Regions from separate parts of the Homo sapiens genome. Here region 2 is linked to region 1. Evidence: promoter capture Hi-C in 16 types of primary human blood cells and fetal thymus (Javierre and others, 2016). All regions are on one chromosome and are shown on one strand. Each heading gives the region's core, a stretch centred on a gene start or on the middle of the fragment in contact. The rest is flanking DNA. Distances are from core to core; before and after follow the strand shown.

Region 1 (2,871 bases), core at 139-2,638:
AATTCTTACAGCTACCATTTTTGGACACTGACTCTGTGCCATATGTCTGTGTGGCATAGATATTACCATCCTTGTTTTACAGCTAAGCAAATGATACTTACATTAAGTAATTTACCCAAGATCAAACGCAACTCATTTTTTGGCCCCCAAAGCCAGTGGCAGCTAGTGCACTATACTTCCTTTAAAGTAAGAAGCATAAGCATCCCAGGAATCCTAATAGGAGTAATAACTAACATTTACTGAGAACCTACTATATGCAAGTGCTTTACGTCAGTCATCTTAGCCTTCCCAATCCTGTGTAAGGTTAGGGTAGGTATCCCCATTTTGCAATGAGAAAACTGAAGCGAAGAGAAATATAGCAATTTGGCCAAAGTCACTAGTAAATTATAAAGATGGGCTTCAAACCAAATAATCCAGAGAAACCTCCTTCCCCGGAATGCTCCCAGTGTGGTTAAAGCACACTGAGGAAGCACGAGAAGCCAACACCTCAAGAAGGGCAGGCAGTCCTGAAGGTCTGAGCCTTCTGCTACACTGAACTCAGGACCCTCTTGGTGGCATATCAGCTCCATGTGTCCAGGGTTCTCTCCCCATGGTCTTCGCCTGTGGTTCTTCTGGTTGTTTTGCTTCTTACTTCCCCCTCCTCTGCTCTGCAGGATGTGGCTGTGACCGCAGTGAGGAGCAGCCTCGCCCTCTCCCCCAAACCAAAATGGGAGTCTGAAGAGGCAGAGGAGGTGGAGACTGTGGGGGTTTTTTTCCCCAGCTGAATCCTTCCAGTGGAAACCTGAACCTTGCTTTGCTCCCAGCTTGCCTTGGGGCTTTCTGGACCATGCTCCCCAGCCGGAAGAGGAGATTGCTCCATGTGAGCCTTCCTTCCTCCTTGGCCTTCCTGTTACCCAGCTCTCCATTGCCCCCATTGCCGTCTCACATTTATTCCGCTGTCTTCTCCCTCTCTCCCTGTTTCAGTCTCCCTTTTTCTCTTGTCTGGGTCCTCCCTATGATCCTCTGGCCTGGCCATACTCTCCCTCTGGCCCTTACCCATCTATCTCCTTGTTTCCTAAGATTTCCTTGCATTTCGCACACATCCATATGGATGTGGATCCACCTGCATCCCTCAGCCCTGCCCCCACCGCATCCAAAACCAGGTCTTTCAGAGGCTGCCTTGCCACCAGAAAAACTAAGCTAAGCTCTACAAAGGACCCAAGAATTGTACAAGCGAGAGTTTCACAATATGAAAAGCTAAGACTGAAAGAGCTAGAGATTCCTCTGCCACCATTACCCCTAAAGTCTACCATTCTGTCACTGCCGGTCCCTCACCTGCTGTGCTGGGTGCCAGTCTTGCCTTGGATGTTCCCGGAAAGCTTACAGAATGGAGAAGCTTCACTTAGTGTGAGAGCCCTTTGGCTTGGCCCCACCCCTTGAGCCCCGCCTACCTACTCTCTGCTTAACCTCCGGTTCATCACTTCTGTCACCAAGAAGGCCTATGGCCCAAGAGCAACCTAGAAATAAGACAAAGGTCAAAAAGAGTGGAATTCTGTTGGAAATAGTCTCAATTCTTTGAAGGGGGGAAAGGGATTTGCATCCTCCACTCTCAAATTGCTTCTTTCTTTTCTTGCTGCCCAGTTCCTGAAGATCCTGTCCTTACATTTCTACAGTACTGGGAAGGATGTAAAGCCCAAATTTCTGGGGTAGGAGGTCAGTGGGAAAAGTTCTGAAGATTGAAAGGTGGTGCTGTGGGGCAAGTATTTAATATATTATTCCAGTGATTGCCAGGTAAGAGCACAGACTGTCACAACCCTTAATACTGAAGGGAGGAAGGTGCTGGGACCAGGGCTGCTGCACCACAGGTGACCAGCAGGTGCCAGCACAGCACTGAATCACTAGCGTAGAGGAACAAGCCTACTGAGTTGCCTTTTTTTTTTTTTTTTTTTTTTTTTTTGAGACAGAGTTTTGCTCTTGTTGCCCAGGCTGGAGTGCAATGGGGTGATCTCGGCTCACTGCAACCTCTGCCTCCCGGGTTCAAGTGATTCTCCTGCCTCAACCTCCCAAGTAGCTGAAATTACAGGCCTGTGCCACCATGCCTGGCTTATTTTGTATTTTTAGTAGAGACGGTTTCACCATGTTGGCCAGGATCGTCTTGAACTCCTGACCTCAGGTGATCCACCTTGGCCTTCCAGAGTGCTGGGATTACAGGTGTGAGCCAACGCACCCCGCAGGGCCTACTGAGTAGGCTACTGTAGTAGCTACTTTGTAGCTGCTAAAGGGATACAAAATGAGGGGAAGCCACAATTGGGTTTTGTTTGTTTGTTTGTTGTTTTGTTTTTGAGATAGGGTCTCACTCTGTCGCCCAGGCCACAGTGCAGTGGCATCATCACAGCTGACTGCAGCCTTGACCTCCTGGGCTCAAGAGCTCTTCCTACTTCAGCCTCCCAAGTAGCTGGGACCAGAGGCTCACAAGCCTTCCTTTTTTTTGTAGAGAGGAGGGTCTAACTATGTTGCCCAGGCTGAACTTCTAAGCTCAAGCAATCCTCCTACCTTAGTCTCCCAAAGTGTTGGGATTACAGGCGTGAGCCACTGCACCCATCCTGGAAGTCACAGTTGTTGAATGAGACAAAAACACTTGCTATCAAGAATCTTATGGGGAATCTGGCGAGGGAAATAAGCTTAAACATAAAGAACAGTAATACTAGTCAAACAATGCCATTAACTTTAATGGAGATTTAAATAATTTTGAGAGTAAAGAAGCTTAATTATGATAGGGCTGAAGAGGTAGACTTGGAAAGATAGATTCAACTACTTAATAGCCAGAGATGGGGAAGAAGTCCCAGATGATGGGGACGGCATAAGCACATGCAGGAAAAAAACAAAATACAG
Region 2 (2,871 bases), core at 152-2,651, 66 kb after region 1:
AAATAAATTAGCTGGGCATGGTGCTGCATGCCTGTAGTCCTCCCAGCTACTTTGGAGGCTGAGGCAGTAGGATTGCTTGAACCCAGATGTTGAAAACTGCAGTGAGCTATGATCATGCCACTGCTCTCCAGCCAGGACAAAAGAGTGAGACCCTGTCTCAAATTTAAAAAATTGTTTTAGGGCCGGGCGTGGTGGCTCACACCTATAATTCCACCACTTTGGGAGTCCGAGGCAGGCAGATCACAAGGTCAGGAGTTTGAGACCAGCCTGGCCAACACAGTGAAACCCCATCTCTACTAAAAATACAAAAAAAAATTAGCTGAGCATGGTGGTGGGCGCCTGTAATCACAGCTACTTGGGAGGCTGAGGTAGGAGAATCGCTTGAACCCAGGAGGCGAAGGTTACAATGAGCCAAGATTGTGCCACCGCACTCGAGCCTGGGCGATAGTGCGAGACTTCATCTTTTTTTTTTTTTTTTTTTTTTTTTTTTTGAGACACAGGAGTGAGCCACCGCACCCAGCTGAGAGTTCATCTCAAAAAAAAAAAATTGTTTTAATAAATTAGAAAACAGTCAGGTGCGGTGACTCACATCTGTAATCCAAGCACTTTGGGAGGCCAAGGCAGGTGGATCACCTGAGGTCAGGAGTTTGAGACCAGCCTGGGCAACATGGTGAAACCCCGTCTCTACTAAAAATACAAAAATTGGCTGGGTGTAGTGGCGGGCGCCTGTAATCCCAGCTACTCGGGAGGCTGAGGCAGGAGAATCACTTCAACCCAGGAGGCAGAGGTTGTGGTGAGCAGAGATCGTGCCACTGCACTTCAGCCTGGGCCACAAGAGCAAGACTCCTTCTCAAAAATCAAACAAACAAACAAAAAATAAATAAGAAAACAGACTCCTCATAGCCATGAAGGTTTTTTTTTTTGTTTTTTTGTTTTTTTGTTTTGTTTTGTTTTGTTTTGAGACGGATTCTTGCTCTGTTGTCCAGGCTGGAGTGCAGTGGCGTGATCTTGCCTCACCACAACCTCCGCCTCCCAGGTTCAAGCGATTCTCCTGCCTCAGCTTCCTGAGTAGCTGCGATTACAGTCGCGCACCACCACGTCCTGCTAATTTTTTTTTGCTTTTTTTCAGTAGCGATGGGGTTTCACCATGTTGGTCTGGCTGGTCTCGAATTCCTGACCTTGTGATCCACCCGTCTCGGCCTCCCAAAGTGCTGGGATTATAGGCACCCGGCCTGCCATGAAGACTCCTGGAGATGCAACTTAATGCTATAACTGTCCTAAACTTAATCATTCCCAAGTCATTTCCTAGTACCCATTTAAGTAAGAAAACAGGAAAGTGGATGCCTTTTTAACAACATAACCTTGCCCCTATTCTTGCTTTACCCGAACAAGCAGTTCCACGATGTGCGCATGTCCATCGGCTGCAGCCATGTGCAAGGGGGTCCTGTCTACTTTAGTCCGGGCATCCCTGCTAACACCTGCTCGAAGGAGTACTTCTGCTGTGGAATAATGACCATATTGAGCTGCAAGGTGGAGGGGTGATGTTCCAAGCTGTGGAAAAATAATGCTCATTGAATATCCACTGTGTGCAGAGTCCTAGATCGTTACTGGAGAGATACAAATGAACAAGCTATGGTTCTTGTCCTTCAAGAGAGAATCTGGTTGGGCAGATAAAACTGAAAAAATGCTTAAATTTACAAATTAAAGGCCAGGGGCCAGGTGCACTGGCTCACACCTGTAATCCTAGCACTTTGGGAGGCCAGGGTGGGCAGATCACCTGAGGTCAGGAGTTCAAGACTCTTCTGGCCAACATGGTGAAACCCCGTCTCAACTAAAAAATACAAAAAAAGTTAGCCAGGCGTGGTGGTGGGCACCTGTAATCCCAGCTACTCAGGAGGCTGAGGCAGGGAGAATTGCTTTGAACCTGGGAGGCAGAGGTTGCAGTGAGCTGAGATTGTGCCACTGCACTCCAGCCTGGGCGACAGAGTGAAACACCGTCTCAAAAAAAAAAAAAAATTAACATGCTAATGGACAAATAAATATACCACCAATTGAATAAGTACTAAGTATAATGGCTTTATGTCAGGTGGATTTATCAGTTAAGATTCCCTAAAGGACGTGACTTTACGCAACGTCTAGAAGGTTAAAACAAACAAAAAAAGGATCAGGCTGGATGTGGTGGCTCATGCCTGCAATCCCAGCACTTTGGGAGGTCAAGGCAGGAGGACTGCTTGAGCCCAAGAGATCAAGACCAGCCTGGGCAACACAGAGAGACCTTATCTCATAATAAATTAAAAAATAAATAAATAAAGTAAATTTTAAAAAAGAAAAAGGGTAGAGACTAGAAAGTTACATGTGGAATTTGAGGTACAAATTTGACTGACTGGAAGAAAAGTTTTTTGCCACAGTAAAGCAGGGCAAAATGAATGATGAGATGAAGACGCAATAAAAATTTAGCAATGATGTATCAACAGCAATAAGTAAGTCTGTCATCCCAGTGTAAATCTTGTAAGAGTTATCTATCAGCATCCACTTTGGCCAGAGCTCTATTCCCTTCTTTTTGTTATGCTCTTTATTTTAAGCCTGTTTAGTTTATTCTTTGCTTTTTCATATATTTAGCCTCTCTGCCTGACTGAATTTAATTCACATTGTTCTTTCCAGGTCTATTTATAGAAATGCTAATTTCATGGGTTTCCTTTTCTTTCTTTTTGTGAAATGCTAATAATCTGTTGGCCTCTCAATTAATCAGTCCAGAATAGAGGTCACTCATTCATTGAAATTGTTAAAATTAGGCAATGTGTACAAAATCTGTGACTGCTAAGAAAGCCCACATTATAACTTGGACCTGTTTCTTCTGAAAGTCTTTGGTCT

What was found. The method cuts DNA at HindIII sites, captures the fragments that hold promoters and counts their contacts. A CHiCAGO score of 5 or more calls a contact.
Region 2: a fragment that was not itself captured here is called in contact with the fragment with the promoter of TNFAIP8L2 in region 1 in 6 of 17 cell types (megakaryocytes, endothelial precursors, M2 macrophages and 3 more); the score reaches 12.0 in megakaryocytes.

The regions. Positions count from the first base shown.
Region 1 is chr1:151,155,166-151,158,036 of GRCh38, reverse strand. It overlaps TNFAIP8L2 (TNF alpha induced protein 8 like 2), which reads right to left and starts at 1,388. Exons shown (of 2, transcript NM_024575.5): 1 at 1,315-1,388. It overlaps TNFAIP8L2-SCNM1 (TNFAIP8L2-SCNM1 readthrough), which reads right to left and starts at 1,388. Exons shown (of 7, transcript NR_144937.2): 1 at 1,315-1,388. It also overlaps a transcript of LYSMD1 not described here. The HindIII fragment of the contact is 1,285 bases long and covers 1,378-2,662 here.
Region 2 is chr1:151,089,086-151,091,956 of GRCh38, reverse strand. It overlaps GABPB2 (GA binding protein transcription factor subunit beta 2), which reads right to left. Exons shown (of 9, transcript NM_144618.3): 3 at 1,384-1,551. Among named protein-coding and RNA genes, the nearest start is that of GABPB2, 20 kb to the right of the region's middle. The HindIII fragment of the contact is 4,511 bases long and covers 1-2,871 here.